6 separate regions of the Homo sapiens genome follow, and all the other regions are linked to region 2. Evidence: promoter capture Hi-C in 16 types of primary human blood cells and fetal thymus (Javierre and others, 2016). All regions are on one chromosome and are shown on one strand. Each heading gives the region's core, a stretch centred on a gene start or on the middle of the fragment in contact. The rest is flanking DNA. Distances are from core to core; before and after follow the strand shown. Region 1 has its middle 440 kb from the start of LINC00355. Region 2 holds the start of PCDH9 (protocadherin 9). Region 3 has its middle 400 kb from the start of LINC00355. Region 4 has its middle 380 kb from the start of LINC00355. Region 5 has its middle 460 kb from the start of LINC00355. Region 6 has its middle 470 kb from the start of LINC00355.

Region 1 (4,955 bases), core at 205-2,704, 2.7 Mb before region 2:
TGTCAATAATCAAAGGGGTTTAAAAAATTGAGAATTTTGGCAGAGAACAGTACATCACAAGGTGAAAAAACCATAAAAATTCTAGAATTCAAAAATAAAACAACCAGGAAACTTCAGTCTTGTCAGTTGCTTTTTTTGTGTTAATTTAAATGATCACGTTGATTTTACTTTTTTAGTTTACAAATATAATAAGGAGAATTGATTGATTTTCAAATTCATCTTTGAATACCAACCCCGTATCCCTGGGATAAATCCCAGTTGGTTGTGATATATTATTCTTGTTTATTATTGAATTCAATTTTCTAATATTGTGTTTAAAAATTATGTATCCATGTTTATAAAGGATATTATAATGTCTTTGTACATATTTGGTACAAATATATACCATCATATGAATAAAACTTACAAATACTAGGCCAAGAAAACCAACATATTAGGAATATAAAATGTACAATTCCATTTACATAAGGTTAAAATTAACAATAAAAGAAAATTATATTATGGAAAATCAAAGTTAAAAAAAGCAGCAGAGTGATAAGCATAAATGTCAAGATAGTTGCTACTTAAAAGGAAAAAAGGTTGTAAGGAGGAATAGTGATTAGGATAGTGATTAGGGGCTAAAGAGGACGATGGGAGCTGGAAGGGTTTCATTCTATTTTTTATTTATCTTTTATTTTAAGTTCTGGGATAGGTGTGCAGATTTGTGGCACAGGTAAACTTGTGTTATGGGGGTTCATTGTACAGGTTATTTCATCACCCAGTTGTTAAACTTGGTATCCATTAGTTATTTTTCTTGATCCTCTTACTTCTCCCACCCTCCACCATCTGATAGGCCCCAGTGTCTGTTGTTCCTCTCTATGTGTCCATGTGTTTTCATCATTTAGTGCCCATGTGTAAATGAGAATATATAGGATTTGGTTTTCTATTTCTGTTTTAATTTGCTAAGGATAGCTCCCATGTGTAAATGAAAATATACAGGATTTGGTTTTCTATTTCTGCTTTAATTTCCTAAGGATAATGACCTAGAGTTCCATCTACGTTCCTGCAAAGGACAATATCTTGTTCTTTTTTATGGCTGCATGGTATTCCATGGTAATGAATATGTACCACATTTTCTTTATCCAATCTGATATTGATGGGCATTTAGATTGGTTCCATGTGTTTGCTATAAGAACAGTGTTGCAATGAACATAGGCATGTACGTGTCTTTATGATAGAATGACTTATATTCCTTTGGGTGTATACCCAGTAATGAGATTATTGGGTTGAAGGATAGTTCTGTCTTTAGGTCTTTGAGAATTGCCCACTGTTTCCCACAATGGTTGAGCTAATTTACACTCCAATGGGAGAAATATAAAATAGTGTATAAGCATTCCTGTTTCTCCACAACTTCACCAGCACCTGTTTATTGACTTTTTAATAATAGCCATTCTGATCAATGTGAAATGGTATCTCATTGTGATTTTTATTTGCATTTCTCTAATGATCAGTGATATTGGACCTTTTTCACATGATTGTTGGCCACATGTATGTCTTCTTTTGAAAAGTGTCTGTTCATGTATTTTGCCTATTTTTTAATAGGGCTGTTTGGTTTTTTTTCTTGGAAATTTGTTTAAGTTCCTTTTAGATGCTAATATTAGACCTTTGTTAGATGCATAGTTTGCAAAGATTTTCTCCCATTCTGTAGATTGATAGTTTCTTTTGTTGTGTAAAAGCCCTTTAGTTTAAATTAAATCCCATTTTTCAATGGGTGTTTTTGTTGTGATTGCTGTTAGCATCTTTCTTATGAAGTCTTTGTCAGTTCCTACATCCTAAATGGTATTGCCTAAGTTGTCTTTTGGAGTTTTTAAATTTTGGGGTTTTACAATTAAGTCTGTAATCTACCTTGAGTTGATTTTGTAATATAGCATATGGTAGAGGTCTAGTTTCAGGCTTCTGCATATGACAAGCTAGTTATCCCAGCACCATTTGTTGAATAGGGTGTCATTTTCCCATTGCTTGTTTTTGTCAGCTTTGTCAAAGATCAGATGGCTGTAGGTATGTGGCCTTATTCCTAGGCTCTCTATTCTGTTCCATCGGCCTTTGTGTCTGTTTCCGTGCCATTATCATGCTGTTTGGGTTATTGCAGTTCTGTAGTATAGTTTGAAGTCAGGTAGCATGATGCCTCCAGCTTTGTTCTTTTTGCTTAGCATTGCCTTGACTATTCAGGCTCTTTTTTTGTTCCATGTGAATTTTAAAATAGTTTTTTTCTAGTTCTGGGTATTACACCATTGGTAGTTTCATAGGAATGGCATTTAATCTATAAATTGCTTTGGGGAGTATGGTCATTTTTACAATATTTATTCTTCCTATCCATGAGCATGGAATGTTTTTTATTTCTTTGTGACATCTACAATTTCTTTGAGCAGTGTTTTGTAGTTCTCCTTGTAGAAATCTTTCACCTCACTAGTTAGCTTTATTCCTAGGTATTTCATTCTTTTTGTGGCAATTGTGAGTGGGAGTTCTTTCCTTATTTGGCTCCCAGCTTGACTGTTGTTGGTGTATAGGCATGTTAGTGATTTTTGGATGTTGATTTTGTATCTTGAGACTTTGCTGAAGTTGTTTATCAGCTGAAAGAGCTTTTGGGCTGAGACTATGGGGTTTTCTAGATATATGATGATGTCATCTGCAAACAGGGATAGTTAGACTTCCTCTTTTCCTGTTTGGATGCCCTTTATTTTTTTTTCTCTTGCCTGATTGCTCTGGCTAGGACTTCAATTACTATGTTGAATAGAAGTGGTAAAAGAGGGCATCCTTGTCTTGTGCCAATTTTCAAAAAGAATCTTACTGGCTTTTGCCCATTCAAGAGCCATCTATGACATTCTATTTCTTAAATGGTGTGTTGATACAGATGTGTTCATTTTGTGAGAAACTGCTGAGCAGGGCTTTGGTTTTCTGGGGATGAGGAGGTACATTTTGGTATGTGCATTATTTCTTATTTTAACAATAAATGATTTAATAATCTTAAATTACCTTTGTAAATTAAAAAAAAGCATTGCCAAGCTATACAATTCTATTTTTCAAATTAGAGTGTACTCAATCTTGGTCTTGAAGTTCAAAGTTCAGATTTAAACCCTAAAGTTGTGATCCACAGTCATTTTTACAAGTTACTTTCATCTCTCAGAGTATTGTTTTTATCTTTAAGATAAAAAGAAAAGTTTTGTTTTGTTTTGTTTTGTTTTGTTTTTGTTTGTTTGTTTTTTTTTTTTTTTGAAACAGAATCTCCCTCTGTTTCCCGGGCTGGAGGGCAATGTGGTCATCATGGCTCACTGCAGCCTCCCAGGATCAAGCACTCCTCCTGCCTCAGCCTTCCAAGTAGCTGAAACTACAGGCATGTGCCCCCACATCTGGCTAATTTTTGTATTTTTATGGAAACTGGGTGCCCCTATGTTGCCCAGGCTGGTCTCAGACTCCTGGACTCATGCAATCCTCCTGCCTCAGCCTCCAAAACTTCTGGGATTACAGGTGTGAGCCACTGCACCCGGCCTAATGAAAACTTTTTAACAAGAAAAAAAAAACACATATCTCAGAAGTTGTTATGAAGATTACATGAAGTAATGTTGATTTCAGCTCAGAAATACACATGCCCAGGCCAGTCTCTTCTGCCCTGTTTCATTGCTAAAGCCTGTGGTCAAGGCACCATCACTTTATAAAATAATGAGTCCAACATCTGGATTCCTATGCTTAAATTTTATTCTCAAATTTAGTTTTCTTTCTATAAAATAAATTAATAATACCATAACCCTCATTTAGCATTTTGTTTGGCACCCCTTCACTATAGGATAAAGTTCATTTTTCTTTTCATGGCAAAGAAGGCTAGTTTCTAATTCTAGACTTCGCTCTCTCCAGTCTCAGTTTCCACAAATCTGCATCATGAAATCTATTTTTCTATCACAGAAACTTAGAATTCCTCATGTTGCTTTTTATTCCCTACCTTTGAACAACACAATCTCTGTGGCTGAAATGCTCCCTCCCATCTTTACTGTCTGACAAATGCCTATTCATCCTTCTAGATGCAGCTAAAATCCTCCTCTTCTATGAAATCTTATGGGTTTCCCCTGACATAGTCAATATGTCTAAGTTCTGGGCTCCTCTTAGTACTTCATCTTCATAATGCATTAGTCTGGACCTATATTGTTTGCTAGCCAAGCTTTACAACTTTGCTGGCATTTCCATAGAAGTTATTACTTTTTTGTCTCTGATAAGTTCAAGAAAAAAATAAAGAAGGAGAGATAAGGACCAGCAGGTAATGGGAATGGAAAAAAGGATATATCAAATCTGTTGGGATAAGGCTGAGTGGCTTTTCCTCCCTATTTCTTTAGTTATACTCTCAAGATTTTGTGCTGTGTTGAGGTGTTCTCAAGAGAAGCAAGTGCAAAAGAGGGACAGCTGTGGTTCTGCTAAACTTGGAGTTTAAGCAACACAACTCATAAAAGTTAGAAATAACAGTAGAGTCAATGCAAGTTAGAGAATTTCTCCATTGTGGGTCCCAGCCACTCACATGTTATACCCTCACATATAAAGGGGAGTCAATTCCAATATCTCTTACCCATATCTAATCTTGTTTTATCCACATTGTATTCTATTATTGCTTAACTGAATTTTAATAAAGCATTATTTTCTTCTAGAATACTAGACATATCCACTCATTTTAGAATGTGGCATATTGATCACTGTTCAGGAGAATTGGAAAGCATTCTCCCACAAAGAAATCTTGTTCCTACTCAAATAGGCTACTCAGAGATTTGCCCTTGTAAAACATGTTCCATCACCAACTGATAATTTGGAGTGTGAAATTTGGAGCCATTATAAATAAATGTAGGATTTATTTGAAGCCAATATATTTCACGCATTCAGCATTTCTCACACAATTATCATTTATGTGGACCTTTTATTGAAGCTCAGTTTCAGCCAAT
Region 2 (5,047 bases), core at 419-2,918:
TAAACATGGCAGTTTGCTCTGCCACTGTTTGCAAGTTTACTCTGTGGAGAAAAACACTAAATATCTCCTGCTGGTTGCATTTGCCGGGAGAAAATAAAATTTTCTACTTTTGAATTAAGGACAGCTGCTATTTTTACCTATATTCACGCACGTTGTTTTTCAGAATACTGTTTAATTCAAAACATGCATTCTTGTTCTCCTCTTCCCCTCCCCCTGTCTCACCCTCCTCCTAGCCTCTAACCTACCTCCCTCAGTCTTTTCAGGTGCAAGTGAAAAACACTAAGTATTTAGCTACGGTTCCTGCTAATTGCTTTGTCACATGTCAAATGTGTTTTCTTCTCTGCCCCACTGAGTCACCTATCTTTTCTAAAAAGGCTATCTTTTTCTTTCCTCCCAGTTCTTCAACTGCCTTCTAATACAATCTTACTGGGAAACGAGCATCCGGACATGCCGCTGCAGCGGCATCAGAAGCAATAGTCACCGGCCTCTACACATCCTCATTGCCTAAAAGCACAACAACAAGACTTCAGATTTCTTGCCCACAGCTTGCTCTCCTTTCTCCATATTGACAAATTATCCTCATTAGGATTCATAAACACATTAAAACTTTTAAAAATGTATAATAATATAGGATTCATTTTCCTAGAGGTGGAAGAGAGTGCCGAGATATAAGTGAAACGCAGCTAACATTCCCATGTAACATCACAATATTTTCTACTGAACATAAAAGAGAAAAAAAATGCAATTTCTTAATCCTGATCTCTGGTTAGAATATTAGTAACATTTGCCACACATAAATACTGCAACCCAATCATGCAGGTAAAAAGGCTTCTGCTTAGATAACTGCAGTTTAAATGGGTGCAAGGCTCCAGGCAGCTACCTACTTGAGTAGGACTGGTCAGTTCTCAGGCTCTAATCTTATCTGCATTAGGCTGCACAGTAGCTGATGCCCGCGATTAGTTCCGGCAGAGTGATGCAGGTAGGGATGCAGATACAGCCGAGTAGGTGAGCTCTGCCCCAACCGTCTACCCAATTACAAGCATCTTTCGCCTACACTGAGGACACATCTAAACACAGAATTTACAATTGTGCATGCGAAACTTTACACTTACGTTAGTTGCCTCAACCTTTCCCCTTTCCCAGTATGCTGCAGTTAGGAATGATTTGTTCCAACACATAGAAAGCCATGCATCTGGTAGCACCAGTTTGGGGAGAAATCAGAAGCAGCAAAATGTTTCCTCCTTGTAAAATGTGTTGCTTCGGGCTGGCAAATTAGCAACTCCAGAGAACAAATTCACGGATTTGTCGTTAGTCATTCTCTCCACATTTCGTCTCTCTTACCCACTGGGTCTGGGTTCTTCTGGGCATTTAGCACACACAACACATAGTTGCACTTCTTCAGCTCAGGGATATTTTCCACAGCAGCATGCATACCATTTCCATCCGATGCCAATACTGCTTAAGTCTCTAACTTCTTGTAGGAAACGTCAGAGTTGCGGTGATGATGATTCTCTGACAGCTATCCGGGTGACAGTTGCCCGAAAAATTCCTAATCGGTTATCTCTTGCGTGCTTCAGAGACTCTGAGGCGCTCCTTTCCGTCTCGCGTGCTCTCCCTCTCTCCCTTCCCCTCTGCCCCTCTCTCCTTCTCCCTCTCCTCTCTCTGAACTGAATTTCTTGATATAACTCTCAATAAGCCCAGAGGGAGGGCGTGACTGCCCAGGCCCCGCCCCCGGGCTCTGATTGGCCTGCATCTTGCGGCGCGGGCGGCCGCAGCCCGGCGCGAGGGAGGGAGCGCGGAACAAGGCGCTGACTGTCTCCCAGCCTCCCCTCCTCCGCGCCCCCTCGGCAGCAGCGAAAACCCGGAAATCTGATCCTGGCCCCAGGAGAGCCGGGTTCCATGAGGTGCACTGAGCATGCTCTGCAGGGTCCGGCGTGGGAGGGACGCGCTGGCGCTCCCCAGGCCCGGGCGGAAGCGGCGCTCGCAGGCGCTGAAAGCGAGCGACCCTCTGAGCCCGGGTGGTCCGGCGGGCAAGGGCGGCGCGGGAGACCCGCAGGGCGCGGGCGCGGATCCGGGGAACCAGGGCCACCGCTGCGGGCGGATGGGGGTCACCGAGGCGGCTCGTCTCCAGGCGCACACTTCGCACATCTCTTTGCTAAGTGAAGGGGCCAAAATGCACAGATGGGGGAGTCTACCCAGGAACAGAGGCGCGAGACGTATAGCCACCCCTGGGTTGGGAGCACGAGCCAGCAGATCCCCGGAGCGCGTTAAACGGACAACATGCCCGGTGCTGCAAATAGAGGCTTTTGCTGGCAGGGACATTGGAAAGAAGGGCGGAGAGGGAGTACAGCGAAAGGTGGGGACCGCAGAATTTGGAATCTCTGCGGAGACCGGAAAGAAAATTAATCGGAGCACTTCCTACATGCAGAGCCACGGAAACTGCCTTGGAAAGAGAAAGTGGCAGCGTCTGGGTCCCCTCGGTCAGCCCGGGCCAGTCGGCTGCGCGTGCGAAGTCTCCTCTAGCGGAGCGGGACCGGCCGCGGCGGTGGATCGTGGCGGTCCCTGCACTTCTGCTCCAGCCGCGCCTGGAAACCTGAGCCCGGACTCGCGGCTGCTGCAAAACCCGCTTCCAGCCCACCTCACTGCGAACTTTGCTTCCGAGGGGCTGGAAGGAGTCCCAGGCAGCTGTTTCCCAAGCTGTGGAACACTTCCTTTCCCCTAGGCACTTTCTGCTGATTCCAACTTTCTTTCCTGTGATTTTCGTCTTTTCCCGTGCATTTCATTTCTCCGACTCCAGCTCTGTACTAAATCCTCACAAGTTTCTCGTTTTCATACGGGAACTGGATGGAATGACTCCCCAAAAAATACAGCTTTATTTCTCAAATACTGACCCCCAAAGCACTATCTAGTAATATATTTGATTGATCTTTCAAAGTCAGTAAACCACAAAGGTTTGTGTAATGGCTTGTACTTAACGCCTGATACCTGAGTAAAGTTTGAAGCATTAACATAGGAACAGTTCACTTGGAACAAAAATTTATTTTCTGAATGACCTATAAAGGTTGTCAGAGAAGGTCTTAGTACATGATTGAATAACTTGGTCTAACTTACAGGAAGAATAAAGGGCATTTATTTTAAACCTGTGTGTTCCCCATTCTATAATGGGCTGCCTAGGCATTAAAGGCTCTTGACATACTTAAGCTCTTGACTGAGGGCGTGTTGGAGATTACCCCTTGTTTTTGAGTACAATAGTTTTGTTTGCTTTTTTTCTTTTTTAAGTAACATTTGTTTTTAGACGTTTAAATGAAAAGTAAAAAAAAAAAAAAACACCAATCAAGCTTACTAAGCCATATATTGAATAAATAATGACATGATTTAACCAACTAATTTGACATCACAATTTTCCAACATGAAATTGTAAGCTCTTTTTAATTCAAACTTTTCTGAGTTAATATTCACAGTTCAACTGCAGTGTCTAAAAGCCCACTGTAAAATCCATTAATCCCTTATATGTAAAATATAAAATACTTTCCTTGCAGATAATAGACTGATATTTTTTAAATAGCAAAGCAACTTTTATTATAGTAATATTTTGTATGATTAGAATATATAAAATTCAAGAATAGAAAGGACTTACAAGTATCCCAAAGTGAAAAGAAAAATATTGCCTCACAGAATAATGTCAGTGAATGAAAGGATGATTCTTTTATCTTACCACAGTAAACGATCATTTTGCCATTCACAAAATCTACAATTAAAGCTAGTACATTGTTCCAATTGTCACCTATTTTATGCACTGCACTGTTTTTAAATAAATGAACCATCATTGTGATACATTTACAATAAACATAGCAGCACAGCCACTTTCCAGTTCATTTCATAAGCACCACAGTTATATCATATTCTTATTCTAATCATACCGTAGTCATTTCAAAGTCATGTTGTAGTCGCAACACATAGCTTAGCAATAATTATTTAACATCATTATTAAACGGAGTTGTTTCTCTTTGCTAAGGATAGCTTCACGTGTTGGCAGAACCCATTATTACCTCCTGCTCATAAATGAAATCTTAGTTTGAACACAAGATGAAGGTTAGAGAAGAGAAAAAAAAAATCATCACATGATTCAATTAATGACTATGAGACTTCAATTAAAGAAAACCACAGGTCAAAGCCCCAGAATGAAATATGTCTAGATTCTTTTCAAAGGAGATGGAGTTTCAGAGACAAATAGAGCTATGGACTCAGGGCATTATATCCTTTAGGTGTTTATTTGGCATTATCTGAACGACTGAGATTCCTTAATGTTCTCAGTTTTACCTCTTAAATCTAGAATAGTTGAGGCTGGTTTGCCCTATAATAATCCGACTTCTAAACTCTAAAATGAGAACTATTATTAGAGATCTTATTAATATTCCTAGAGGAAAATTAAATATAAAGGGTCATATTCCTAACCCTGTGTTATCACAACTTAAGGTTTCTTCCCAAAACACTATATAAATCATTTTCATAATGAGAGCTGTTCATAATCTACCTCTCCAATATTAATTTTTTAAGTTAGGTCTGTGTAATTATGAATCAGGAAAATATTCTTAATTTCAGTTTTTGTAAGGGAACACCTATTTGTTTTTATGCTGTGTTTTATCATTGTTTTTCCTTAGTGAATTTAATAAAATGTTAGATTTCTAATATCGATCTTCCAGTATATATATTAGACTTTTAATTAGATCTCTTTAGTTAACCCTTATTCATCTTTGTCAAAGCGTATTTTCTACTGCAAGGAATTATGATGTTTTCACCTGTGTTGTACCTGATTAGTAGCATCAGGATACTAATGGGAATTACGCCATTTGAGCTATAGTAAAATTGCTTTAGTGTTTTCTGCTGGTTATATAGGTCATGGGATACTTGTGAAGCTAAGTCACCTTCAGCCAGCTAACTGAAGACTAAAATGCTTTTGCAGATTTAAACACAAACAGATGTGGAGTTAATAAAATTATTTTGTGTTCCACAAGTTTAATATTGTTCTATTTATATATTTAAACAA
Region 3 (4,821 bases), core at 1,439-3,938, 2.8 Mb before region 2:
CCCATTTTTTCTTAGACAATTTTTCAGTAGGTAATATAAGAATTTGTGATTATTCTCTATTTTATACATTTCCAACATAGTATTCTTTTTAGATATTTAAATATCAACATCAAGTTATGATCCAGTTCTAATTTTAAAGGCTTAAGAGGCAATTTTTGGTGGCCTTAATATCTTTTCTTTGATTCATTTCACACTGGTTTTATAATTTAACTCTCAGAGTGTTCTATTAATCGCAAATTATTAAGAGAGAAAAGTTTGTAAAACTATTCTGGTAACTGCTAAGTTAAGATGTCTTTAACTGCTTCTATTTTGCAAGGGCAAATGGGTAAATTGTCTTTTTCTCCTTATTCACATTAGGGAGATAGAAAGAGTAGAGGAGAATCTTTCTTTCTTGTCAGTTTTCCTCTTTTCCATATTCTATAATGAGAGTTAAACCAAAATGATAAACAACTAGAGCTTTAACCTTATTCATTATTGCAACCTCTAAGGGAAATTCTGCTTGACGTCTTTTAATTTTGCAATTAACAAAGAAAAATTTGACCTTGTCTGAAACTGTGTTTAATTGCCCAAAGTTCTCATTTAAAACAGTCTCTAAAGATTTGCACACCAGACCTCCCCACCACCCCCCACCCAGACGATCTTTTACTGCTATTGCAGCCTCAGTTCTATTGTACTCTGAGAGTGATTCAAGGTGAAATCCTGGATCTACATTGACTGTCTCTCTCACACAGAGTACGTCATTTTTCTTTGTCTTTTCTATAAACAGAATGTGCTATTCTTAAATTAGTTGCTGAAAAACTAAAGTATACAGAAGTGGAATGACTTAAGTAATAAATATACAGTTTTAGGTCTCAAAAATATTAGGTATCTTTTAATCCAGTATTTAATTTGAGTCTCTAATTTAACATGAGATTTAAGTAGGTCAGATATTGTATTAAATGTATAAGTGTAGAATCTGAGGTTCAGATATATTAAGCAACTGACTCAAAAACATAAATTCCCCAAATGAGGAATCAGGCATTTAAATCAGTATCTTTCCGATTCTCCCCTTCCTCTACCTCAAGATCACACGTCTGTTCAATCATTTAGACAGCAACAGACTTGTCAGAAAACAAAGCTAACATTTTCAATTCTGATATCTAGATTCTTTATTCCGTTTTCTCATGTGTCATTTATTTTGTGATTGTAATAAACCTTCGTAAACTAATTTTATATATGATGCTATAAAATACAAATCTTTAAAGATAAAAATATCCAAATGTAAAAATGAAATTATATAGAATTTGCATTTGCTTTTGGGTAGAGAAGGGGCACACTCTACTATTCATGTGATCCATATGTTTGGAAAAGCATCTGCACACCAGGAAGGTAAAATCTACTGCTGGAAACTGAAGACCCTCAGGCAGTGGTTATCTGAATACTAAGTATTTAGTGATTATGATGGGAAGGCAGAACAGGAACTTGTCTAAAATTCTGGGCTACCTTGAAAAGTCTTAAAGTGATAGCACACTTACTTCCAGTGCATTTCTATCTGAGGAGAAACGTCAAGAATGTACTCAGACTTAAAAAGGCATAGATTTTGGTCTATTTACATTAAATGTTTAAGTTAAAAAAGCACATGATGGAGTTGAAGAAAACTTGGTGGGGTATTAAATAAGAGAGATGCATCTTCCCCCCTGGCACTTACTGAGATTTAGAAAAGTCGTGCCTCCACTCTGGATCTCAGATTTCTGATCAACAACAAGAATAGGTAATGTGGGATGATCTCAACAGTCTCTTCCTTCTTTGAATTGCTTTTTCCCTCCTTTTAATCAACTACCATGCAATCAAAGTATGTTTACCAATCCAAGTTCTGGTTTACAGCACTCAGATAATTAAGAGACCCCTGCTCTGCTTATTTTCCCACATCATTGATTAAATTAATATCAATCTATTTCCACCATGTGTTTATCAAATAGTTTACATTTACTTCTCTTATAACTGTTAAAAATTGGATTACTATCCCCACGTTATAAATGAGTATATAATGCTTTAGAAAGCTTTAGCTACTTCTGTAAATTTTTCTTGCCAATGGCAAGAGTATCCTGGGCTTAGATCTCTGGTAATCTGACTTCCAATTTGTATGATGAATTTCTTAGCATCAGTTTATTTTACACATTCAACAGGACTCTGACCTTGTTCCAGGACCTTGCAGAACTGAAAAATGGAAAGATAACTTATTTTGAAGCCAGATACACCTGGGATGCATGTCTGTTATCATATAATTTAAATGATTTACTTCCCATATTTATTAATTGTAAATTTATTTTTTACTTTGTAAATTTTTGGATAAACCGAAAGGGGAATTGATGATACATAAAATTTTATGTACAACTGAGACAAAATAGACACCCTATAAACTGGTGGCAAAAGGGACTCAGTTTAGACTGTCATTTATGTTCCCAACAAGTACTACCAATATCTTGGCAATTTCTGGGAACAAAACTGATTTTCCAGGAAACAAGGGAATTGAAATGTCAAAATTAGAGAGGTATTATTTTGATTGGACCAACATAATCTATTTCAATATAGATATTATTTTAAAATAATAGTATTCCTTTTTCATTTAGCTTTTTAATTGAGAAAATAAGCCCAATCTCTTTGCTATCAAGTAAATTAATAGAACAATAGATATATTATTGATTCATTGTGAATCAAGATGTTTATATAATAGGGAAATTCAACTAAACTCCTTATGTATTTGCAAATCTTTTATTATATTCTGCAAACTAAAAAAATAAGTACTGCTTATATTCATAAAACTAGAGTATACTTCCATATAGTCAGCAAAATATATATATTTATGTTTATATATATGATAATAAATAAATTAATTTGAGCTTAAGGAAAGAGATGCTTCATGTCAATTTACATTGCTCTGTATTTTTATGTTTATATGTGTGGCATTTAGGAGATTTCTTAAAATATATCTACTCAACATAAGAGGTTTATATGAATATGATTAAATACACAGTAATCTATTCATTATCTTAATTATTTGCATGGAATGCAAATTATAGTTTGAAGCTATTCAATGTATTTTTGGAAAAGTCATGCAGAGCATCAACATTAAACAAGTATTTGCTTTCAATTAGGAATGTGTGACTTTCTTAGAACCAATCATTTGAAAATATAATTTGCACGCTAATTGTAAATTGCAAAGTCATCTTCTGGTTACACTGCTTCTAGGTCTTCTTTTTTTATGTTAATTTTAACTTTTCATCTCTAGATGGTGCTCTAAGTACCTGCATTGCAGCTAGACATGTTAACAACACTGGGATAAAAGGCAAAAGAAACAAAAGCTTAAAAATAAAAAGTGTACTAGAACCAAATAAATTAACTTAGAAAAATTCTTGGAACTTTCGCTTTAGGCCAGAAAAGCATATGTTGTCAGGTGATTAAGCCCATAACAGAGATGTTTGAATGCTGTCCTTATTAGAGTTAGGAAAACAACTACTGCAGAAAAATATTTAAATAGAGTTAGCAAATTCAGAATTGATATTTTTCAAACTAACTTATATGCCCTTTTTTACATCTATGTGTTGTATGCTAAATACTTGGTAAAAGAAGAAACAAATATACCTAAATACATTATATAACTATGAAGCAATTTTATTCAAGTTCTTTAAGATATCTTGGGACTAAAAACCATATCTAAAAAATGGATAACAAATAGCTAATCAGTTTTTGGTTTTTTAGAACTGTCTATTACTGACTGGCTAACTATGATCTGCAAGCCACACCCAGTCCATTTTATTATTTTGTCACATTCTAAACTAAGAACGCTTTGTATATGTTTAATTTTGTTTTTAAATCAAAAAATATAATGTTTGGAAACATAAAAATTATAGAAAACTGAAATTTCAGTCTCTATAAATAAAGTTTTATTGGAGCACTGCCAAGCTCATTTGTTTAAGTGTTGTCTATGGTTTCTTTCCCACTATGACAACAGAATCTAGTACTGTGACAGGGACCCTATGTCCTGCAAAGCCTAAAATATTTATGTGTCCTTTACAGAAACATTTTGCAGACTTCTGGGTTGAATGAAAGTTGTTGACTGTTGAATGATCTTGTTCGCTGGTAACATTGTTATTGGGAAGAAAGCCAAAACAAGCTGAGCTCTAAACTAGTACCCTAAGTTAATATAATACTGTCATGTCAATAGGAAATTTTTAGTACATTTTAAATTTAGTACTTTAAAGAATGTCTTTAATAAAGCATCTTCTGAAGTTTATATCTACCCAGGAACAAAATAATATATTCAAAGATTTAAAATTCAGCCAAAGTCATCATTTGGCATCATGTAGCCAAGACAACAACAATGCAAACTCAATAGAATTTTAATGAATTTAAATGTGTTTTGTGAATCTGCTACTCTGGACTGTGTTTTATCCTATAATTCTCCCCAATGTGATACTAGCATATTAATGAGAATTTGGTTCTCCTAAGTATGTTAGTTTTTATCAATTGTTCCAACAAAGTATTTCTTTTGAAGAAAATTACAAGAATGTTATTTCTGCTGCTACACTTCAGAGCCTTATCACTCCCCTCTTTTATAATCCCTCTGACCTTTATTCTTATAATTATGTTATCTGTACTCCGAGTTGCAAATGAGAGAAACACAAATTCAAACCTACTTAAGAGGGAAAAAAAAGGATTTGTTGGAAGGACACTCAGGCATTTCATGTAATAAAAATGGAAATAAGAGTGGAATTATAAACATTATTCCCCCAATGTCATTTTGTATACTTAGCATCTTCGTGCTCTCTTTTTATGGTCATG
Region 4 (4,749 bases), core at 340-2,839, 2.8 Mb before region 2:
ATAATCACTTATATACACACAGAGGAAATGTTGATTGATTTATAAATTAATAGTATATCAGAAAGATTTGGGTTTTAAAAAAGCATCAATTATTTTTAATTATTTAATATTTTAAAATTTATTATATAATGCTGATAAAATTGGCACAGAGTCTCACTTGTTTCACGTAATTATTATAGTAGTGGGTAGAAAAATTGTGAGAATATACTCAAATACAAAATGCTCTGTGGGCATCTGGTTCAGAAAATAGCCATTTTATTAAAATCATAGCATTGGAAAGAAGTGGGAATGAAAAGATGTCCTTTTAATAATAATCAATTTAGTGAAAACATTGTGAAAATTTGTACACAACTAAGTCACAGTATTTTAACATTTACTAAATTTTTTTAAAATAATAAATCCCCTTCTCATAAAACTTTCTGAAACCAGTTCTTCCTTCTGACTTCCTTTTTCTATTTATTTCATCCAGTGAATAAAATGGAGTCTTGGAGTCATTTTTACCCTTTTGCTTCTATTATCCTATTTCCCTTTACTTCTTACATCTCAGGGATTTCCAAGGAGCTTTGAAAACAGCAATGTAGAACATGGTAGGTTGGATGAAAAGGCAGCCTGGAAATATGCAGGAAGTGAATATTTAACGCCTCTGTACACTGAGACTAATTAGTTACAAGAAATATAAGAAAGCCCAGCCAGTTGTACAGCATGCAGTGCTCAGACAGTGCAGTGGCAGGATGTATCTGGCAGTCCAGATGGGTTCCAGCAGGCAGTGCATTCCAGCAGGCAGCCTCAGAGCAGAGAGTACTCAAAGATCCAAACCAGGACAAGGGCTTAGAGACAATAGGCATCAAAAGAGACAGGCGGCAGGTGTCAAGCCCCGTTTCAGCAGTGAAACAAAAGCAAAAGCCCAGAACCTAATAGAACTAATGACATTAATCGCAGTACCCATGATGCTCAGATACTCAGTTCTGATGTTGTTGTTGCTCTGAGCTACTTGACTTAATGCAGAATTGCTCAGGTGTCCATTTTAGAGACCTTAGCTTTTCTCTATAGATGAGACCTGAATCATACCCCGTTTTTTTGAAAAGATATTCAGGGTCTTTTTACACTGTTCTTCCATGTCTTCTGTTGAGAACTGTCAGTTCTGCTATTGTTGAATGTGTCTTAACAAAAATAAAAATTTCCAATGTATTCTTCTCCTATATTAATAATATCTTCAGTGACTATTCTACTTGTACCCCTTTCTTCTTCAATCCAAACTAGGTAATGTTGCCTGATTAATCTGCTGGACAAAGTAAATTCAGTAAATTCAGTGGCTCAGACTTGTGTACCAAATTAGATGTGAATGTTTCTTTATAACGTTCAAAGTTCTTTAAAATAGAAACTCAATTTACTGCTCAAGCCTCATATCTTATTATTCTAGTATCATGTCTTACTCAGCTTTTACATGTAAATTTGCTTCACTTATTCTGAAGAATTAGTATTTACTGAGTTTTTAAATATAGGTTTTCTAAATTTATTTTGATTTTCTTCTTTCTGCTAAAAATACAATCATAAACTTTAAAACTGCTTTCTTCCAATAAAAGTTTAATCTCTCCATAAATGGTCACCTGCTAAGCCAAGTTCTCCGTGTGTCCTTTCATTATCTCCTGATTCCAATAGAAATTTACTTTTTGAGCAGGGTTGGTATGGGGGTGAGATTGTGAACTACTTACAGATTTTTCTCACATTTGCCTAAAAACAGTATGGGCTGCTAACATAGGCAGAGCAGTTAGGGAGTAATGAGGGTGGGGGAAGAAGAGAAAAACAGAACACATTCAATCTATACAACTTCTACTTAACAAAAATTGCTGAAATTTCATTAATAACGCAGAGATTCAGGTCAGCCAATGTGACCTGCAACAAAAATTCTTATGGACAGGTTTTGCTATGCTTGTTTGAAAACAAATGTATATTACATACATACATACATACATATATTCACATAGTCATCGGATTGGAGCTGCCTGCTTTGAATTTCTACAGCTCTGGGCTGCATTTGTTTCTATAATGACATCTGTAGTCAGATTTCTCAAGTTCAGTTCCTTGCCCAGAACTACTTGTTTATTTAATTTCAAATTTATACTCACACTGCTTTATACTTAGATTTCCATATGTTGTGCCATTCTGTCACTGAGTACAGTATGTGGAGTACAAGGTGTCATATATTTATCTCATTTCCATAATTTTTCTTATACTTTATTAGTCTGGATACCCATAGTTTGGGGTTTCATGTAATTAAAACTGCAATAATTCTGGTAAATTAGGGAACATGATTTAGAACTCTCAAAAAGTACATCCACTTCTAACTTTTACAAAAGTTATGCATTTCAAAGTAAAGATTTTTCATAAGAGTTATGATATCTCAATAGGGCAATTTTAATTAGTTAATGTTTAATTGACATTGAATTAATTAGTTAATGTTTAATTGCCACTGGAAAAAAAATGTATTCTGAAGATAACATTCTCTCCTTCTCTAGGAGGTCCAAGACATAAATTATAATGCATTAATATGTGGATTTTAGTCAGTGTCAAAGTATAGGGAAAATGGAAGCAAACATTAAAATGCACAGAATAAAAGTTAACATCACTAAGGTTAACTGTCATTAATATAACATTTTGGTTTCATGGTGTTCTTCATTACTGTAGTTGTGCCATGCTGTGTGCTTTGAGTATTTTAATTTTTAATATATGTCAACATCGCTTCTGACCTCAGGTTTAAATTTCAATTCAAAGCTCTATGATGCAAATACCTTCAAGAACTTCCCAAACATAAATTCAGAAAGAAACTCCCTTTTAGTTTGAATGTAAACAAATGTTTTCAGGGAAAAATGTTGATGCTATAAATATGATTATTCTTTTATAAAAATACACAAACTGTTTCATCACAAACAGGCAAAAGTATATTAAAATAACAAAAGCTAACTAGGGTTGATCAACAAAGAAAAAATTGTTTTTACAAGTCGAATCTACATTTCTACAAGTTAAAATCCACCAGGAGGCTTTTAATCCAAGGAATAATTTTTTTAATTTAAATCCATAGAAATGTTTGTCAAATTAGACAGTTTTAAACATTTATTTATAGTGCTTTTTAACAGTCTTTATTTCCTAATTGTGAATAATAATGTTGGTGAATTGCTACAATTCATTTGAATCTGTCTTTCTTGCATTATACAAGAAAAACTCACCAATTTTTAAATTTAAATTTAATTTTTTTCTTACCTAGCAAATTACCAGAGGAAAAAAGGTTGATTTGAGATAAGAGATTGCTTTCACAATAAAAATATAATCAGAACGCAAATCCCTGAGTCTGAAGTTGTAAAATGATGTGTGCATGATGGGCAAAAGAGACCTGGGAGAAATTGAAGGTTTCTAACAGCAATGCCTGACCTCAGTGGAGTGCTTTTTCACCTGCAAAGTGACACTCGCTTAATCCTCACTGTAGGAAAATTTCAGGGCACGTATCCTTCTCTGTTAACAATAGGGGATAATTTAGATCAAAAGCTTTCAAGTGTTCTACCTAAAGTCAGGGAGTGATTAAGGCATGGAATAAAAACAAAAACCAAGTTTCTAAAATTGCAAGACTGATACTATTTTCATTGCACAAAACATTTTCAACCCTGCATCTCTCCTTAAAAATGTGATAGAAGTAACTTCTTTCTAAATTTATTTCAGAGGTTTTAAGGGTATAAATAATTTCTGAGAATAAAAGAAATAGCTTTATAATTCAAATTTATTTTAGACATATTATTTACCCTTTAATTTACCTTTTAATTGGAGGTTTACATTATTTCTTTAGGACAAAGAAAAATCTTTATCCTTTCTTGCAAACTTTGGTTGATTTGTCTTTACTTTGATCACGGCATAATGGAAATGTATAATATTAGAATGTTTTTGTGACTGATAGACTGTGGAAATTCCTTTTTTATGCCTCAGTAGGTTTTAATTTCACTATTTCAATTTCCCAAATTGTATTTAGTTTAGAAATACACCATATTGCTTACTGTTCCAGCCCTCTATTAGTTTTTTCAGTGTTGTAACATTGATTGTTTTCTCAGATCTCATTTAGCTAGTTTCACCCTTGAAAAAGGAAATGCAGTTTCTGTCAATGCTATCTTAGGGTTATCAAAGGGCTAAAAATTTCAGATAAATATCACAGTTTTAGGCAATATTTTTAAAAATAATAAAGCAATGTGATAGTCTCATGATGGTTTTTATTATCCAAAATTATATTTTTACTTATATGTACCTTCCTATGTTCTGCTAAACATAGAGAATGCTGTTTTGTTGTGTTTAAATTGATATTTAGTGACATCTTAACCAGTCTTGGGGTGCAGGAATGGAATTGCCTTAGAAGGCTTCCAGTTATTCATGCTGAACTTCAAAAGATAAGTGGATATTAGGCAGTGGAGGGCAGTGGATATTACATGCAGAGAAGCCAGTTGAACAAAAACACACACATGGAACTTACAATGAGTCTTGGGCTTTAAAGATCTCCAAAAATATGTAAACGTTAAAGAAACACATTACATGTTTGTGCCTCAGTTTCCTCACCTATAAAAAGGTAGTAGTGACAGTACCTAAGATGATTGCCACGAAGGGTAAATAAGCTGTTACATGTAAACTGCTTAGAACAATGATGGGTACATAATAAATACTAAATAATTTTTAGCTATTATGCTGTCAGATCATCTGTATACAGTTATTGTTACA
Region 5 (4,726 bases), core at 117-2,616, 2.7 Mb before region 2:
TTCTAACTATTACTAACCATTATTCCAGAGGTCATAATATGTGCAACTTCTCCAATTACTGTTGAGAATAACATCACTACTATGAACTTAAGATTGGCCTGTCAAGATGTCTTTGCCAGTTTTTGCATTTCTGACAACCAGATGGCCCCACCTGGACCTGCCAACCAGTTCTGTGGCCCCCACCCAGGAACTGATTCAACATAAGAGGATAGCTTTGATTCCCTATGACTTCATACCCGAGCCAACCAATGAGCTCTCCTGACTCACTGGTGCCCTACCCACTTGATCTCTGAGTTTTCAGGGAGACTGATTTGAGGAATAATAAAATTCTGGTCTCTCACACAGCCAGCTCTGCATAAATTGCTTTTTCTCTATTGCAGTTCCCTTGTCCTGATAAATTGGCTCTGTCTAGGCAGGGAGCAAGGTGAACCCACTGGGCAGCTATAAGAGTGGTTAAGCTTCAATTAACTGGCCCTATTTCCACTCTCATATTTTGTGTGGCTCCTGTGCTTAAGTATGTTAATACATTTTTACACCTTTTCACCTGTTGATCTGCCTATTGTCAGTTTATTTCAGCAAACTCAATCACTCATAGGGAGAGGAAAAATTCTCTTCACCTGTATAATATGTACATTTCATATATACAGAGGAGACACCCAGGGAATGAGGAGTTACCAAAGAGGTAGTTTTGAATTCCAATTTATACAGCATTGTCAACCTTTGTTCTTTAACAGTAAATTTTTACAGAAGTGACAAGACAAAAAGAGAGGACTTGTAACTTTTGAGAAGGCCAACAAATGGCAGGTAAAGGCTAGTTACTAAAGCCTAGTAATGTAGATTTTGCTAGTCTCTTTTTCTTGTCTCTTTTTCAGATGATAAGCATCTAAAGCTGTTTTCAGTAGTTAAGATTTGTTCTCCCTTCTAGGGAGAACTTTAAATTATTTGAGCCTCGAGAGGAACGTGACGCTGTGGCTTGAGTCACGTGACATGTTGTTGCAAATTCTCCTTTAACTTCCTTTCTTATTCTTGTATTGTAGATGATTAAGAAAGACTTAAAAGCACCATGGAAAAGAGCCCCCATGGGTCTAATACCCCTTTTTAAGTAATGTTAAAGCAATCTTACTTGTGATGTAGCAAACTGTAATCAATTAAATCACTATGATGTATGTATTGGCCTTGTGTGGAAAATGCCGCAACTCTGTTAAATTTATCTATCTCTGCCTATGTAAGTGAAACTATAACTTTCCCACTTTGGAGCACTGACCCCCATTCTTTTAGAGTCTTTGTTACCCAAGCGGAGATCCTCAAGTTTTGAACTTGAATAAACTCTCTACTTAATCATATTTTCTAAATCTCATTGTTGAAAGTTGACATCCTTCATTTAGGCAAATAGGAGGGTAGAGACCTTTCCTGCATCTGCTTATTCTTAATTGTCTTCGACTCAACAATACTTCATATTTGGGGGTGGCATACTCTGGTCTTCAACAGTTGTTAAAATCTGTGTTTACCAAAAGTAAGAGTCAAAGAAAAAAAATCATAATACTGTAAACAAAGTTTAAGTGAAAATACTTACAATTTCTATGATTCTAAATGGAACACGAAACTTGAAATCCATTCTAATATTAACTGTCATGTCCTATTTCTGCATTTAAATTTTGCATTTTTATTGTAAACATCTACAATTTTGTTTATGGTTGGAGTAATATAAACCAGATATTTTGCAAAATAAAATAAGATTATGTTCCAGAGAAAAAAATAAAAATAAAATAAACAAAATGAAACAAAAAACTAGATCACATTTTAGTGGGCTATAGTCACCATACTATTTTTTTTTCTTTTTTAGTACAGGAAAATAAGACAAGCTAAATGTGACTAAGTAATTTTTTTTTTTGGTAGAGAAGATATTAATGCTGCTATTTTAGCCTATTCATATGCAGAAAATCATTATAGCTAGTTATAGCTAGATAATTTCTATTATCCTTAAAATACCACAATATTGTGTAAAATGTACTGTTGTAAACATCAATGGCATTTTAAATGAAGTATTATATTTCTCTTGAAATTTTAATTTTTTTCTTCAAGTGGCGAAGATTTTTTGCTCAACCCAATGTTAGTCAGCCTCGTGAATTTTCTCCTAAGCTCATCCATGTGTGTACCTCCTAGTAAAATTATCTTGTATCAAGAACTCCGCTAAATCGGTTTAATAACAACCCCCCCACATCCTTCATATCTGATCACCCTCATCCTCTATTATCTTCCAGATGAGTCCACATTCAAGCTTGTGGACTCAAGATCACAATTGGCAGTAGCTCACCAGTTTTGGGATAGCAAACCATTTCTCTTTTTCTTTCCCAGCCATCACTGTTTTACTGTCCTGATTTTCAGTGAATTTGTAACCAACTCCCTGTTTTAAGTGTTTCCAGATGAGATCTCTAACATAGCTTCTGTTTTCCTGACAAGACCTAAATATTAAAATTGCCAGTTGGTTTTTATCTTCATAACTTGCTTAGATTTTCCTTTCTCTAGAATATTATTTTCTCTCTGATTTTAAATTTCAGAGTAGCTTCGAGGCCTCTGACACTATTTGTGTGTGTGTGTGTGTGTGTGTGTTTCTTCATCACTCCTTATAGATCACATGAACATTTGTTCCTCCAATTAACAGTTATTTACTATAAGACTTCACAAATTAAAACACATCGTACACAGATAAACAAATAAAATATGTCTTTTTGATTCCTAAAATTGTTTGGATGGATTCTCTGTATAGCAGTGGAGAAGAACAAAATGCTGCCCAGATCCTGGAAGCTTAATGTGGTACAATTATTCAAACAGTTCTTTAGGTAAAATTCTCAGATTTTCCTCTCTGAACCCTCTCTCATCACTCTTTACCCAAAATGTTGTTTGGGAATTGGTGTAGTAAGTCCTCAAAAATCATATGTGGATTGAGGAGACACAGATATTGAAATCCACACAGTATTCTCAGTAACAACACTCCACGCCCCACCCTGGGTCTCTGTTCTAATGTGATTTTAACCTGCCCCTGGGATGGGGGCCTGAGGTAAGGCAGATTCCATCCTTGAGAATTTTGCTGCCTACTGTTGCTAAAATCTTAGGATGGTTTACTTTAAGTCCTGTCTCCCTTACGATAGGAATGTCTTAGCTTCTTTTCTGGAAAACATAGCCCTTTCTTGATTCTCACTAGACACCCATCTGCTTCTTTCCTTGTCCTCCATTTGGCATAAGAACTGAAACCAACATAATTTGACTGTCCCGATTTTACACAATAGTGAGAATAAGCAAAAGAAACTTAGTTACTGTCTCCAGGAAATAATTGCTTCTGAATAATAACACTGCGAACCACCTCAAATAGTTTATTACGAACAGTTCGTCAGGATTTGCTTCAAGATTCTTACGTCAGGGTGTTCACTTTATTCACCAATTCAAAACTATTATATCATAATATGTCTCCTCCTAAGTCCAAATAAAATATTTTCCCATGAATTTTTTCCTTTTGAGATAGTAATAAGACTCTGTCAAATTGATATTTTCTCTTACCACATTAAATCTAAGAACTTAGCTATGGGTGATCAAGTTTTATTTGTTTGCATTTGTTTTTGTTTTTGTTTTCCTAGTGGTTTTTCAAGGACTCAACAGTTGACTGGCAGTTGGTTCAGGCTACCCCTTCTTACCTTGACAGATTCCTTGATATGCCCACTGAGTCCCTACCTTCGTGCTCTCTACATACCCTCTGCAGGGAATTCAGCTTCCCATAAACTACAAGCAAGAAACGAAAGAGACTTTAGAAAGCTAAACTCTGGCCTTCCTCCTGTCTACCCACTTTCCACCAACAAGCTTAGTTTAAAACAGCCACACTTTAATTGTCAGGGACAGCTTGTAAGTCCATTGTTATTCAAAGTCCCAAACATTTAGATGGGAAAAGCCCATTCTCCTTAGAAAATCTCCCAAACCACCTCACAAGTCTCCTTACTTTGGTCCAAAACTCAGAGAGTGGTCACATTAGGAATCATATTGCAATTTCTTAATTATCTTTTTTTTTTCCTAATAGTCTCAATGATTAGAGATAAAGATAATTTTCTATTTCTTCTTTCTTTGTGATTTTCTTTAGAGAAAACTGCCTAATTGACCTGTTCAATCATTTGATAAGTTCAAGGGAAAGTTTTTGCAGTAAAAAGCTCAACTTTGAGAGTGAGGATTGATCAATGGCGTCTTTTCCTAGACCAGTGGCTCTCAACCAGAGACAATATTGATGCCTGCAGATCTTTGGCTTGCGGAGACATTTCAATTGCCATGATCTGGAAGACATTATGGACATCTCCTGCTAAATGTCCTTCAATGCACAGCATGGTCACCAAAAACAAAGAATTATTCAGCACATGTTAATAGTGCTAAGGTTAATAGTTCTGTTCTAGACAATATTACCACCCTTTTTTTTCTACAATAAATCATAAATAAATAAATGCATTTATATATAGTAATAACTTTTTTTACTTTACAGACAATGAGTGTTTCTTTGTTTATTCATTATTCAAGTATGTATGCACACATTCCTATTTAGTGCTGTTGAAACATCTAGGTATCAAGATGATTACAATGCATTACTCTTTGCAGAAGTAATTCCAAAGAATCAGACTCTTAATTTGCAATGCAATTTAATAAATATTTATTGTACATCTATTATGTTTAAGCATTCCTGGAGGATACAAAT
Region 6 (4,836 bases), core at 166-2,665, 2.7 Mb before region 2:
TCCCTATTTCCTGGTAAGGGGAATTGAGCAGGGCTGATATTTATCTGACTTGTACCAACATGTGGCCTTTCCACTTGTTAAATATTGAAATACCTATGGATTCCTTCTTGTGGGGCTCAGAACACAATGACTTAAAACATGGCAGCTTGGCATAGTGAATATTTTAAGCTGAAGGAAATTGAGAAAACTGAAAATGCAAGATCTGACCTTCTCCTTCCCTTCTCCTCTGAGAGCCTCTTATGTGACAGGTGTCCTGTCCTATACCCTGAGGAAAGGAATAAAGACATACAAATGCAAAGAAGAATCTGAGCAAACAGGCATTGGCAAGTTTACCTCAGTTGTTACCATTATATCATATTCTCTCTTGTGCAGTCATACTTCTACATGACTTTCCAATCATCAAACTTAAGCACAAAAATACAGTTTTCCCTGTTTCTTTGGGTATCATTCCTGAAATCTCTTATGTCATACAAAATTTTTACTAAATAAATTTGTTAGGCTTTTTTCTTGTTTATCTGTGTTTCTTATAATGGTGTTACATGGTTTGGCTCTGTGTCCCCACCCAAATCTTATGTTGAATTGTGATCCCAAGTGTTGGAGGTGGGGACTGGTAAGAGGTGATTGTATCATGGGGGTGGTTTCTAATGGCTTAGCACCATACTCCTAGTGCTGTCTTGTGATAGAGTTCTTACAAGACCTGGTTGTGTGCAGCACCTATCCCTCGCTCTCTCTCCTGCTCCACCATTTAAGAAGTGCCTGCTTCCCCTTTGCCTTCCGCCATGATTGTAAGTTTCCTGAGACCTCCCCAGCCATGCTTCCTGTATAGCCTACCAAACTGTAAGTTGATTAAACCACTTTTCTCCATAAATTACTCAGTCTCAGGTAGTTCCTCATAGTAATGCAAGAACGAACTAATACAGTTGTCAGCCACGAACTTTTCAACAGGTGAGAAAAAAGTTGTGTTTCTTCTTTCCTACACTTGTCAAACAACTGATGCAAATCCACCTAATGTTGCTAGGATCCTTACCTCAGTAGCGCTTGAAAGGCAGTGCCTGCAGCTGCAGGAAGATGTATGGGAACAGACACAAAAACTCTCCCTCCCAGATAAGCAAGACAGAGACACAGAAACATTCCAAGCCTGTGATAAGCTCTCTTGCCCTAAACTCTTAAATATTCTTAGTCTGTAAAACAGTGCTCCTGACCTCACTCGGCCAGAAGCCCCTCTCAGGTTTATTCTCCACAATAACCCGGCCTTTGACTGTTGAGCTGCTTTTTGTGTTTCTTTCTTCCTTCTTCACCTCTTACAGGCAGCCCTCTCATATTCAGTATCTCATAGCAAGAAGCCTCCATACTTCCACTCCAGTGGTAAAACAGTCCTCCATTCCAATTGGTGGATGCCTTTGAAGTATCAACTGTTGAATATTTTGCAGTAGGTAAGGGAGGGTACTAGGGAGAATTAGGATTACTGTGCTTAGTATTACACAGCTCATGGATACATGTAAGTTACTGGGTTCCTTACTAAAATCAGTTTTTTGTTGTAAAAGAAGAAAGAGGAAATGAATGGTGACTAGAGTATCTACTACAACAAGCAATATAAAAGCCCTCATTATATGTGTAACAATAAGAACTGTCTTTTATGGGTGAGGCTTCCCAAGGAATTCCTGCATGCTCTATTAATAACTTAAAGGACTAGCTACCTAGCCACAGAAGAAAGCTGCCCTATTCCTTGCAAGTTACCACTTATCATATTATTCAATAATTGTTCTTCTGGTTATTGTTGTTGTCAAAATATAGATACATTCCTTATGAATACACACCTAACCCTAAACCCTGAAATATGTAAGACTAGTCTTAAAATCCAGCAAGACTTCACTGAGAACTTGAGAAGCACAAACAGGAAGCAATGTAGGGAATTTTCAAGAACAACAAAAACATGAAACAAAATGTGTATCCTAGACTCTATCCAAGACACAATTGTCATTGACTTATTGTTCCTTAGACTCCTGGCTATTGTTCAGTTATAGGAGTCAGTTTCCTTTTAACTGGGTGAAATTCCTTAATCATCTCCCCTTGGAACTAGAGCCTAGTTTCTCAACTGCCCTTTCACTCTAAGTGAGGAAAAAAATAAACAAACTCTTTAATCTCTTGCATAATTCTATAAAATAGACTTCAATATTATCATAATAATAATCTTGCTGCAAGGAGGCAATTTTGCCCAGAGGGAAACAATTTTCGACATTAATATGCAGAACAATTTGGTATTGTTTTAAAACCTTATTTCAATTAAAAAATGTTTCTTTCTCACTTCTATCACCAAAGGCCCATTTAAGTGATTCCCATATTCCCACTTTCTCCAAAAGTTAAACTTCACCCCAACAAACGTTGTCTCTAACTAGAAAAACTTTGGAATTACATTTCTTCGAGTTATCAATTATTTGATATTGGAGCCCAGTCTCAGAAGACTGTTTGTAACAGTGCCTTATAAAATATCTCTAAAATTAGTCTTTTCAGCAGAATATAGCATATAATTCAACTGAAACATAGTCAAACTGAAGGAGCCTTAAGGTGATATTCAACATGGTTGAAAATATAAACAGTTTTGTTTACCCTCAGCACCAGAAAATGATCTTCAATAGATCTATTTTCAGTATCCTGCGAAATATACCAGAAATGCCTCCCTCACCCAACCCACATGCTTAGGACTAAATGAAGACAACAAACAAATTTGTTGAGAATGAATCTGTGTGCCAAATTCATAAGTTTGAAATATTAATAAAATAAATTTTCCTATTTTGTGATCCTGCTTGCTCCCTTGCTCATTTTAACAGAACATCATGAAGTGTTCCATGCTCATTGCTCCAGGGAAAGATAAGTGAGTCTAAAGAAGTCTAATTTTTGAATTTCACATAATTCGTCTTTGAGGAAAGTGGACATAATTCAGGGCATAAACAATAGGCTTTTGGAGACAGACATGAAAGAACAGGTGATTGCAATGCCTCTTCAGACTGGGAAAGGAATGCCTAAGTTGAAGGTAAGAGATGAGCATGGATGCATAGTGGGTAGATCAAAACATATTTCTGCAAAAGAAGTTATCATTTTCCTGTTCCACAATCCAGGTCGAAGAGGGATGAAAACACCCCTGAAAGTGTACAATTTAAAAGAGTCAAGGCAATATAGATTTTGCTTTTCATGTAGAACTAGAGAGTGGGAGGCAAGAGCTAGAAATCTCAAGAAAAAAATAAATGGCTATATGAATAACCTAAGTAGATGATCTTAAACAGTCTCATATGGTTTCTAGGCAGAAGTGTGAGAATGATTTCTTTCAATGGGACTTTGAGGATTAAAATGAAGGATGATTCAATGGCATCCCATATGCACTGATGACTAAGGACATGACAGGATGATGAATGTTTTAGTAAATACCATCATGGACAGATGATGATGAGAACCAGATGGCACAGTTTCAACAACAAGTAACAAACAATCCAGCTGTCAATGACTTAAGCAATAAGGGCATTCTTTACCTCACGTAACAAGGATTCAAGGGGCCTGATTACTTTAGAAGCACAATGATGTCATTAGGATCCTGGAGGGTTTTTGTTCATATTCCTCCCAGTTAACTTTAGGTGTTCAGCTTTAGTTCTGTCTTTCCCTCAAGCATCATTAGATACCTACCATTGATTCTTGGCAACATATTCACTACACTGCCTCCAAAAAAAGGAGGATACATTCTCCTTGAAAAATATTTTTGTATAAGGGAGAGAAAAAAAAAACACTTGCCTGGACACCTAATGTCGTCTTCCTATTTGTATTTTAGAGACCATGACTAAAGCTAGGTGAAATGCCTAAAGCTAGTCAACTGTCCTTGACTTTCTGTCATTTTCTGGCCTCTATAAAAGAAAGTATTTGTATTTTTTAATGTGATGATTAGTCAGGCATGATCACAAGAGGAGACACAGGAAAGGCTTAAGTAAACAACATTTATGATACTCACCTAGAGACAGGTGGCATGAAATGTGGTGACGGGCAGGTAGGAAAGACACCAAGGTGCTCAGGAGGCAGAAGAGACGAAAGAGTGGGGAAGTGCTTAGGCCATGGACTTATCAGGAGTTTACTAGAGAAAGTCAGGGCAGGGCAGGGAAAACAGCTTAGGATTGGTTAGCTTGAATAATTTTAGCAGGATTTAAGCTATAGGGGTAGTCTCTAGTTGCCTGGCACCTGGTCCTGTGATAATTAAGGAATATTGCCTCTTGGGGTGAGCAGGTCAGATAGTAGAGACATTATTGGTTTGGTTAGGGTGCACATCAAAGTCATGCTTCTGGCTGGGCCTTTTGCAATTTTTAAGAATTGACTAGCTTATGGAGAGGTGGTCTCTTCCCAGCTACAAGGTTTTTTAAAGATTTCAAAACAGGGCCTGGTGTAGTGGTGGCTCATGCCTGTAATACCAGCACACTGGGAGACTGAAGCAGGATAATTCGTTTGAGCCCAGGAGTTCAAGAACACCCTGGGCAACATAGTGAATCCCCATCTCTATAAAAACAAACTCAAAACATAATAATATACAGAATATTAATATCATGAATAATTATTATGCATAATATAAAAAATATATATATAAGCACACAAATAGGCAGTGAACTCTTTCAGCAGGAAGAAAAGATGAAAGAGTTTCGGGAAAGGGGAAGAATGTGTGTTTGGCACACGAAATAGGAAAAACAGAAAAACAAACACCTATCAGGTTGCAATGAGAACATAGCATTATTTTTGTGATATTCTTATCAAAAATGCATAAAATGAATCTAAAATGTAATCATGAGGAAATATCCGATAAGTCAA

The links. Contacts are between HindIII fragments. The CHiCAGO score rates a contact against its expected background, and 5 or more counts as called.
Region 1: a fragment that was not itself captured here is called in contact with the fragment with the promoter of PCDH9 in region 2 in 1 of 17 cell types (M2 macrophages); the score reaches 14.6 in M2 macrophages.
Region 3: a fragment that was not itself captured here is called in contact with the fragment with the promoter of PCDH9 in region 2 in 5 of 17 cell types (M2 macrophages, megakaryocytes, M0 macrophages and 2 more); the score reaches 15.9 in M2 macrophages.
Region 4: a fragment that was not itself captured here is called in contact with the fragment with the promoter of PCDH9 in region 2 in 1 of 17 cell types (M2 macrophages); the score reaches 5.3 in M2 macrophages.
Region 5: a fragment that was not itself captured here is called in contact with the fragment with the promoter of PCDH9 in region 2 in 15 of 17 cell types (M2 macrophages, M0 macrophages, M1 macrophages and 12 more); the score reaches 47.0 in M2 macrophages.
Region 6: a contact is called between a fragment that was not itself captured here and the fragment with the promoter of PCDH9 in region 2, in 2 of 17 cell types (M2 macrophages and M0 macrophages). The highest score is 9.9, in M2 macrophages.

What each region holds. Positions count from the first base shown.
Region 1 is chr13:64,511,201-64,516,155 of GRCh38, forward strand. No RefSeq gene overlaps it. Among named protein-coding and RNA genes, the nearest start is that of LINC00355, 440 kb to the left of the region's middle. The HindIII fragment of the contact is 5,466 bases long and covers 1-4,187 here.
Region 2 is chr13:67,228,668-67,233,714 of GRCh38, forward strand. PCDH9 (protocadherin 9) reads right to left here and starts at 1,669. Exons shown (of 5, transcript NM_203487.3): 1 at 1,113-1,669. RefSeq lists a silencer at 1,940-2,079. The HindIII fragment of the contact is 4,939 bases long and covers 1-3,336 here.
Region 3 is chr13:64,468,842-64,473,662 of GRCh38, forward strand. No RefSeq gene overlaps it. Among named protein-coding and RNA genes, the nearest start is that of LINC00355, 400 kb to the left of the region's middle. The HindIII fragment of the contact is 1,302 bases long and covers 2,038-3,339 here.
Region 4 is chr13:64,453,282-64,458,030 of GRCh38, forward strand. No RefSeq gene overlaps it. Among named protein-coding and RNA genes, the nearest start is that of LINC00355, 380 kb to the left of the region's middle. The HindIII fragment of the contact is 3,898 bases long and covers 1-3,538 here.
Region 5 is chr13:64,530,621-64,535,346 of GRCh38, forward strand. No RefSeq gene overlaps it. Among named protein-coding and RNA genes, the nearest start is that of LINC00355, 460 kb to the left of the region's middle. RefSeq lists an enhancer at 3,576-4,200. The HindIII fragment of the contact is 1,820 bases long and covers 457-2,276 here.
Region 6 is chr13:64,548,511-64,553,346 of GRCh38, forward strand. No RefSeq gene overlaps it. Among named protein-coding and RNA genes, the nearest start is that of LINC00355, 470 kb to the left of the region's middle. The HindIII fragment of the contact is 8,822 bases long and covers 1-4,836 here.